Regions from separate parts of the Homo sapiens genome. Here regions 1 and 3 are each linked to region 2. Evidence: promoter capture Hi-C in human tissues and cell types (Jung and others, 2019). All regions are on one chromosome and are shown on one strand. Each heading gives the region's core, a stretch centred on a gene start or on the middle of the fragment in contact. The rest is flanking DNA. Distances are from core to core; before and after follow the strand shown.

Region 1 (3,362 bases), core at 448-2,947, 57 kb before region 2:
AATATACCTTTTTGATTTATTTAGACATGTACTCAACTATGTATAATTTTTGTACATACAAAAAGAAATATGTAAGCAAAACAAATCATTTAAGGTATTTCTAAAATTTCTTCACATTTACATTTGTGTTCAGTCACTTTAACTCAGTGGCACAAATATCTGTTTTTCTATCCAGTATCATCCCATGTACCATAAAGAAAGTTTGTGATGCAGCATTTTTAAAAAGTGCTTCATTATTAACCTCTGGGATTTTCTTACAAATTGCTGACACTGGCTCAACAGATTTTAATGCTGGCTATGACTAAGGGAAAAGAGTAAATTAGTATTGATTCTGCATAGGTATGGATCTAGATAAAATTTGGGGCTCTGTGCGCATAGAAGGGGAAAGAGGATACTGGGGGACAACTGGCAGTCTCAAGAAACATGGTAGTCATTTCCATATTATATACACAAGGTAAATGAAGCCCAGAGAAGTAGACTAATTTGCCCAATGATGCATAATTACTGCCACAGAGCCAGGATGAAGTCCAAATATATGCAGCTCTGCAATCCTACCCTGAAACATAAATCTAGAGTTAATAAGTAATAACAAGTGTTGGGTAACCCCAACACTTTGGCAGACTAAGTCAGGAGGATCACTTGAGCCCAGGAGTTCAAGACTAGCCTGGGCAACACAGGGAGATCTCGCCTTTACAAAAAATTAAAAATTAGCGGGGCACGGTGGTGCGTGCCTGTAGTTCCAATTACTCAGGAGGCTGAGGTGGGAGGATCACTTGAGCCTGGGAGGTAGAAGCTCTAGTGAGCCATGATTGTACCACTGCACTCTAGCCTGGGCAACAAGAGTGAGACCCTGTCTTAAAAAAATATGTAAATGTGCTTCTCCTTAAACTCAACTGTTCCTCTGGAATTTAGTCTAAAAATACCAGTACAAATGTGCAAACACATATAGGATCTACATGAGGGAGTCACTTCTGCAGACTTTAAATTGGAAACTAGTGTCATAAATAAGGGTGGAGGGTAAGGTGGCAGATACATGGAAATTGAAGAGTCAGCAGTAGCAGTATCATTATTGGTGCAAGCAATAGCATATATACCAGCAAGCACAGTAGTGATGTTCCCACTAGACCAGTTCCACAGTGTGATTTTGGGAATTTGCCTTGGTAGGCCAGTCTCCAAGATGGTTCTTTGCCATCCCAGAGATTCTGTGAGTTGCTAAGCATCTTTCAATAAATTCTCTTCCTGCTTAAACTGTTATATTGGTTTCCATTGATTGCAAGGAGAAGTCTAACTGATACACTGGCCACCTCTAGACCAGTTCCACAGTGTGATTTTTGGGAATTTGTCTTGGTAGGCCAGTATCCAAGATGGTTCTTTGCCATCCCGGAGATTCTGTGAGCTGCCAAGTGTCTTTCAATAAATTATCTTCCTGCTTAAACTGTTATATTGGTTTCCACTGATTGCAAGAAGTCTAACACATACACTGGCCACCTCTCTTTTCCTCCAAACTGCCAAGTTGTTACCGCCTTAGGATCTTTGCTTTCCATGTTCGTCTGCCTTGATCACACAGGGCCCATTTCTTTGTATCATTCAGGATTTAGGCCAAATATCACCCACCTTGCAGCAGAAACGACCCAGATCCTCCTCCTTTTTTTTTTCTTTTTATTATTATTATTTTTTTTTAAGACGGAGTCTCGCTCTGTCGCCCAGGCTGGAGTGCAGTGGCGCGATCTCAGCTCACTGCAAGCTTCGCCTCCCGGTTTTTTTTTTTTTTTTTTTAAAGAGACAGGGTTTCCTTCTGTAGCTCAGGCTGGGGTGGCACGATCATGGTTCGCTATAGTCTCCATCTCCTGGGCCGGGCCTCAAACAATTCTCCCACCTCAGCCTCCTGAACTCCTGAATATCTGGGACTAGAGGAGCATGCCATCATGCCCAGCTAATTTTTTTATTTTTAAATTTTGGAGAGACAGAGTCTTGCTATGTTGTCCAGGTTGTTCTCAAACTCCTGCACTCAAGTGATCCTCCCCGCTTAGCTCCTCAAGCACTGGGACTCCATTGGTGTGAGCCACTGCTTACCTCCCCAGGTCCCCTTCTGAAGAAGTTCTACACCCACATCTTTCCCTTTGTATGAAATCTCCCTGTTTTATTTGTCTTCACAGAACTTATCACTAGATGAAATTATTTAGTTCACATGTATTTGTTTTCTTGTTTATTTCTTCCCCTTTCTACCAACAGAAGCTTGAAAAATTACTTGCCAAGAAAATTGTCTGGCACGTAATATGGGCAATATATTTCTATTGAATTAACAAAGAAGCAAAGAATTTTATATCTTTGTTTTGTAATACCACTAAATTGGGAACATCTTTTGAATATCTATCAATAGGAAATTAGTTATACAGATAGGGGTACAACCATACAACACATCTACTAAAAAGGTAAAAGTGTATTTTCTGTATCTTGACACAGAATTCTGCAATATAACGCTGAGTGAAACAGTGATGAAAGTAGTTTATAAATATATAATTTCACATGTGTAATATACATAGAAAGAACACGGAAAGATATTAAGAACACTGTGGTGAGAAGTTAATACTATAATGAGAACAGTAAGGTAGAAGGAGAGGAGAAAATCCTGCTTTTTGCTTGATAATTTTTTGTATTTTTTTTTGCAACAATCATGTATGCATTGAAACTTCCTTATGGTTGCAAACAAACTAGGCTGAAAATATAAATTTACTGAAAAAATATCAAGGTATGATATTCTTCATAATGAAATGAAGGGTTGAATACACAGTTACTGAAAGGGTACACGTAACACTGGGTCTCAGGAGATCCCAGAAACAGTGATATAAAAATTTTCAGATTTCTTCCCATCAATCTCCTATCTCAGCTTCTCTTTACATGTCAGCTTTATCTCACTGCAAAAAATTTTTTGTCCTGATAGTAAAGAATGTTATTGTTTCTAAGTCTTCCATGTGATCTCATCTACCCTCATTTCTCTACCAGTTGAGAAAGACTAATCTGTCTTTTCCAGGCCCAGATTGAAAAATCCCAAACTTTTGGCTGGGCACCATGGCTTAAGCCTATAACCCCAGCACTTTGGGAGGCTGAGGTGGGCAGATTGCTTGAGTCCAGGAGTTTGAGGCCAGCCTGGGCAACATGGCAAAACCCCATCTCTACAAAAAATACAAAAAAATTAGCTGAGTGTGGTGATGCAACCTGTAGTCCCAGCTACTCAGGAAGCTGAGATGGGAGAATCATCTGAGTCTGAGAGTTTGAGGCTGCAGCAATTGCACCACTGCACTTCAGCCTGGGTGACAAAGTAAGACCCTATCTGAAAAAAAGAAAGAAAAGAAAAGAAAGAG
Region 2 (3,081 bases), core at 449-2,948:
TTTTGGATCTGGTCTCTCTTTTGGTTATCGAAGAGGCAGAAATGTCTCATTAATCTGCCTTGCCACATGCAGAGTAAAACCGTTACTTAATAGCAACAATACACAGACTTTGCTTTGTGTTGGAAAAGTATTTTTTTCCAATATCTATTAAGTCTACTTTCTGCCTTTGATATCAGCAGGAAGGGGCAGCCAACTCCCTCCACTTTAGGGCTTTTGAACAGCCCAAATCCTGAGGGGTAAGTGATAAGAAGTTATCACTTAGTGCTTACTATATACCAAGAGCAGTTTCTAAGCACATGTACGGTACTAACTTAAGTTTCACAATCGCCAGAATCATAAGGCACACTCATTATTCCTCATTTTACAGATGAGGAAATCAAGAAACAGAAATTTCACTTGTCCACGTCTCACGGCAAGTTAGCGGAAAGGCTGAGGAATTTATGTACAAAAGCGACTTAAACTGGCTGCATGCAACGGCAACTCTCGAACAAAGAGGGCTGTTCTGCCCAACAAAAATTCAGTGTATATATCTTTTAAAATACAAGATCAAATTCATGACCCACCTGGAAGCCAGAACGCCCCTTTCCACCTTCCCTGGCCCAACTACCATCTCCCTACTCATTCAGGTTGCAGGTTCTTTTGATACATCCCAGAGAAGGAGCCAAGAAGTTAATTAACCTTGAGCAAATGAGCAAACTCGCCTTTTCTGGCCCGGAAGATAGTGAGTAAAGAACCTGACTAGACCTTCTAGAGAGCCGAGATTCAGAACAACTGGCGCGACACACAGAAGGAGAAGGCAGGCCGGGCCTCGGAGTTACCTTGTAGCGAAGCGCTTGGTGAATATCGGCGGCCAGCTGTCCTCGCCACCACTGCCCCTCCAGCTCCATGGGACCCGGCGGCGCGCCCAGCCCGACGCGGCAACTCGAGTCTGTAAGACACACCCCAGGCGCGGTCACTGCCGGCTCCCCCGCGACCCTCTGCGCCCCCTCCCCGGGGGGTGTGACCTCAGGCCACCCGGTGTGGCTGCTCATCTTCACTTGACTCTTCCTCAACCCAGCCCGACCCGAGTCGTTTCCCCCAACGCCACACGCGAAGCCGGGTCTGCCCCCGCAGGAAGAGCCGAAGGACTCTGAGACTCACTGCTCGACTATGTGTCGGGCAAAAGGGGATCCACTCGGGCCCTGAGTTGCCAAAGCGCGGAGCCAGGTGCGAGCTCGGGAAGAGCTGGGGGAGGCCCGGCTGGGGCTCCCTGCGTCCGGGGCTGGAGTTCTCCCGCCCTCCCTGAGGAGCGGGGAGAGGTGACACGCTCATAGCCCCGCTGAGGGGAAACGCTCCCATGGCAAAGCCCGGGGGTGAGCGTCTGCCTGGCCGCGGGTCTCCGCATGGACGTCGGGAGCCTGCTCCTCCCCGGGAGCCCCGAGAAACGCACGTTCCGCGCGGCCTCAGAAAGGGGAACAAAAGGCCGGGCCAGCCAGGCTCTGCGCCTCACCCCGGGAGGGTCCGCTGCCCCACGCCTACCCCAGGCCTGCCGGGCCGCCCGGCCCCACGCTGGCTCCCTTACCCGGAACCGCGGCCCTCACAGCCCCAGCCCCGCCGTCGTGCGGCGGACGCCGGCCCCGCTCATGCTGCGGACAGTGGGCCGCTAAGCGCCGGCCTCAGCTAGAGCCCAGCGCCTGGACGCTCGCGCCGCCCATTGTTAAAGGACCGGCAGGCGGCTCCGCATACAAAGCCAGCGCGGGGGCACTTGAGGCCCCGCCGCTGCCAATCTCGTCTCGCGATACAGCGGGGTCGCCCCGAGCCGTCCAATTGGCGGCCGGGCCGGGCCCAGGTGCAGCGCCAGGCGGCGGCGCGGCGGCTCCCGCCTGGGTACGGTCAGCATCCCGCACGGCGCGGCGTGGCCTGGGCTGGCCTGGCGCTTCGGTTGCCGGGGCGCTCAGCCGCCACCTACTGCGAAGCCGGCCTGATCGCCGGCTGAGGTCGGCAGAGAGCGCCGGAGAAATTGTAAGGTGGATCACTGCAGTGACCAATCCAGTTAGGCCACTCACCTGCTGAGAACCTTCGATGGCTCCTCGATGCCCGCGGAGCAAAGTTCCGACGCCTCAGTTTGGCGTTTAAAAGTCTTCACGGCATGGATTCGGTTTACCTTACTTCACGTTGCACCAACCGCTTCCATCCCAGGGGCTGCTCCGTGGATCATCAGGCCCTCCAAATGTGCTTTAGCTGTTTCTGCAGCCCCTGAAGCGTTTTTTTTTTCCTGTGAAATTATGCTCTTTTTTTAAGTTCCACCTCAAACTCCACCTTTCTTCTAGAAACCTAATTAATCTCTTCCCCCTCCTTATTTTCGTTGCTGTAGGGATTCCCAAGAGCTTTGAATGAAGACATTTAAGATTACTTCTAGTAACCTTGCTTGTCAAACCCATGGTGGATGTAATTAACCATCTGTGCTCGTAAATCAGGAAACTGCAAAACTGTGAGAACACTCCGACGTCAATTGAGGTGATATGGGGGCTGAAATGTGATTAGAGGAAACCTAATCAATTGTATTTTAACCTCTTTGGTGGATTATCACAAAAGAGGTGGATGGTAACCCTAGGACAGTGAGACTGTCCACTTTTCTGAGACTGGAGATCAATCTCTTAATAGTAAAACGTAAATATTTTTAAAACTTCACCCCTTTTACTTTGAATCCTTTGTCCAAAAAGATACATGATGATAAAGAACTACTACAAAGTGATAAATACATTTTATGTGATTCTGGGTGGCATCTTCATTTGAAGATCATCAGCAGACATGTATATGAGCCGTACCCTATCCATAGACGATGCTTATACCCAGGAGAGCAGGCCCGCAGGAACCAAAGGCAAGAAAAGGGAAACTCAGAAGCTGAAGTTGGCAGATCCCGGCCTAACCCGACATAGTCCAGGGAGAAGGCTGCCCTGGCCTGTCTCTCAGTTGCAGGGTCCTCTAGAGTGAAGGTAGACACATCAGGCTAAAAGCTTCATGCCATTTTTAATGGCATTTAAATAGTGTCTACATCCTTGGGTTCCATTTCATGACTATTAAACAACTTTATAATAATTT
Region 3 (3,137 bases), core at 312-2,811, 38 kb before region 2:
CTAGCCAAGCCAGAAAACAGATAAAGAGGGAAGTAACAGTGATTAGGTATTCAATGTCACCAGCTGCTTCTGGGTGTCTGTAGACAGAGGGAGAAGAAAAGCTAAAGAGAATAGGTATCAGTTTGGGGATTGAGTGTGATGTCACCTTTGCCTGATGACCTACTGAACATTAGAGACTGAACTGACTTAAAATTGGTAGAATAAGCATGAGAGAGTCCTCCATTTGTTTGTTTGTTGTTTTTAATTTTAGGTGAGTCTGAGTGATTATGTCATGTATATGTATGTCATGGCTGATGGGCTGAGGACCTCCATTGCCCTCTCCGAGGCTTGGCTCAGCTGGCCTGGAGAGATGTGCTAGGGAACATGCACCCTCTTGTTACCTTCCATCTCTATCTGTTTTGAGAAAACCACTCTAACTAGTCTTTGCTGTGGATTTCTCTCTCTAGATGTCCTTCCTTTTGTTCTGGATTTGTTGACGCTGACATTGTCACTTGAAGTGACAGGGTAAAGCTTTTGAGAGCTGATTGCTTCAGTTATTAGGTCACCTGTGGGACTCTCTAAGTACCGTCATGCATCACTTGACTGTGGTGATATGTTCTGAGAAATGTGTCATTAGGTGAATTCACCATCATGTTTATTTACACACACATAGGTGGTGTAGCCTACTACACACCTAGATTGTATGGTATAGCCTGTTACTCCTAAGCTACAACCCTGTGCAGCATGTTGCTGTACTAAATACTGGAGGCAATTGTAGCACAATGGTGAATATTTGCATTTCTAAACATATCTAAACATGGAAATGGCACAGTAAAAATACAATATAACAGTTGTTTTTGTTTTTTAATACACCTATATAGTGCAGCTCCATTTTAATCTTACGGGACCAGCAGTGTATATACTGTTCATTGTTGACTGAAACATTGTTATGTAGTGCATGATGACTGTAATTAATTTAGGGCTTTGTTTTGACAATGGTTTTGTTTGTTTGTTTGTTTGTTTTTGAGAAGAGTCTGGCTCTGTTGCCCAGGCTGGAGTGCAATGGCGCGATCTTGGCTCATGGCAACCTCCGCCTCCTGCGTTCAAGCGATTCTCCTGCCTCAGCCTCCTGAGTAGCTGGGGCCACAGGCGTGCACCACCACACTGGGCTAATTTTTGTATTTTTAGTAGGGACGGAGTTTCACCACATTGCCCAGGCTGGTCTTGAACTCCTGTTTTCAGGTGATCTGCCTGCCTCAGCCTCCCAAAGTGCTGGGATTACAGGTGTTAGCCATTGTGCCGGCCTTGACAATGGTTTTCATTTTCCTGTACACAAAAACTTTCCTGTCACCATTCTTAGTCCCTTAAAGAGGCAAACTTTTATTTTCTAGATATTTAAAATAATACCAATAACTTCCTATAATTTTCAGATTCACCATAATTTCTGCATGTGATACTCACATAAATGTATTTCCACCACAATTTTGAACGTGAATTTAAGTCACTCAACTTAATTCTCACTCACAAGAGATAAGGCAGCCTCTGGTGGCAGGGATTTTTCTTAGAAACCCCTTTCTGCTCGAAAGACTTCTTAGAGAAAAATCACACATTGGTGAAAACTAATAGCATGACATTTATGTTCATGACTTTGCCTGGCAATTCTTCTCTTTCCCATTCTCCACAGGAGCTGTTTTAAACTTCTGCTGACCTTAGACCCTTCCCTATGTGCTCACTAGATCTCCTACTTTTTCATTCTCAGCAGATTATTTTACCTCCCGTTTTCTCAGAGAAAACAGAAAACATAAGATGGCAACTTTAGCAAATTAGTGCGACCAAACCTTCAAACTTACTTCATTGATAAACCATTTTTGTTCTTTTTTTGTTTGTTTGTTTGTCCTTTTCTCCTTGCACAGTGGAAAAGGTGGTCCTCTTCTGGTCCAAGCCTCTGGATCTCTTCCCATTCATTCCTACTCTTTAGGATTTTTCTCGTTTACTTAGCTATGGCTCCTTCCCACTGGCATTTAGGCATTCTCACATCTTTTCTGTCTTAGAAGAAAAAAATAAAACCATCCTACACCAATTTGCCGCTCTCTCTTCTGTTTCATACCTCTCTGTCCACAGACAAGTGTTCATGAAAAAGTTGTCTTTACTCACTGTTTATTTCCGTGAACTTCCTGTTTATTCTTCAACCAACTGCAACATTTTATCTCAACTGAAATTACCAGTTTTAAAGGTCACTAACTACCACTTCATTTCTAAATCCACTGGGTATTTCTCAGACCCTATCTGACTTGACCTCTGTTCAGTCCAGTGTGACAGTTTATCCACTTTCTTCTTGAAATCTTCTTTTACTTGGGCTTCACTGACACCAGTGTTTCCTAGTATTAAATAATTTACTTCTGTGGTCATTCTTTTGAATGTCTTTAGAGCTTTGCCTTCATTCATTCTCTCATCCTTTTATTTGTGTATTTATAAAGCATTTATTACATGCCAGGCAGCATACTAAGTATTGGAGACTGAGAATCTGAAGCAATACCTGGACTCTTTCTTCAGAAAAATATACTCCCAAACAAACACTGAAAATTTGGCATACATTTTCAAGCCTCTCACACAGTGTTAAATACATGCATATCACTCTAGAATCTTGCTTCAGGGCCTCCGAATTATCTTAGCAGAAAGTTGTTTTTTTTTTTTTTGAGATGGAGTCTCGCTCTGTCACCCAGGCTGGAGTGCAATGGCACAGTCTTGGCTCACTGCAACCTCCGCCTCCTGGGCTCAAACGATTCTGCTGTCTCAGCCTCCCAAGGAGCTGGGATTACAGGCATGTGTCATCACGCCCAGGTGATTTTTGTATTTTTAGTAGAGACAGGGTTTCACCATGTTGCCCAGGTTGGTCTTGAACTCCTGACCTCAGGTGATCCACCCGCCTCAGCCTCCCAGAGTGCTGGGATTACAGGTATGAGCCACCATGCCTGGCCAGAAACTTTTATAGAAATATTTTTTAAAACTGCCCCAAGAGGCTTAAATTTTCTTTTAAAGCCCATGGAAAGTGAAAATGAAAACAGTTTTTCCCAGAAAAAGATTTTGCTACCGTTGGAAATTTTCTTCAAGGCATTAAGACTAAACAAGTTCTTTCAAGCTAACATTTGTGAACAATC

What was found. Contacts are between HindIII fragments. The study calls those that stand out against the background at their distance.
Region 1: a contact is called between a fragment that was not itself captured here and the fragment with the promoter of CCNJ in region 2, in 1 of the 25 tissues and cell types used here (spleen).
Region 3: a contact is called between a fragment that was not itself captured here and the fragment with the promoter of CCNJ in region 2, in 1 of the 25 tissues and cell types used here (liver).

The regions. Positions count from the first base shown.
Region 1 is chr10:96,098,800-96,102,161 of GRCh38, reverse strand. No RefSeq gene overlaps it. Among named protein-coding and RNA genes, the nearest start is that of ENTPD1-AS1, 10 kb to the right of the region's middle. The HindIII fragment of the contact is 3,055 bases long and covers 170-3,224 here.
Region 2 is chr10:96,042,200-96,045,280 of GRCh38, reverse strand. CCNJ (cyclin J) reads right to left here and starts at 1,698. Exons shown (of 6, transcript NM_001134375.2): 1 at 1,562-1,698; 2 at 819-928. The coding sequence starts at 887. The region is part of intron 2 of ENTPD1-AS1 (ENTPD1 antisense RNA 1); the gene reads left to right. RefSeq lists silencers at 1,418-1,987, 2,115-2,309. The HindIII fragment of the contact is 11,661 bases long and covers 1-3,081 here.
Region 3 is chr10:96,079,787-96,082,923 of GRCh38, reverse strand. The region is part of intron 2 of ENTPD1-AS1 (ENTPD1 antisense RNA 1); the gene reads left to right. Among named protein-coding and RNA genes, the nearest start is that of ENTPD1-AS1, 8.9 kb to the left of the region's middle. The HindIII fragment of the contact is 4,273 bases long and covers 1-3,137 here.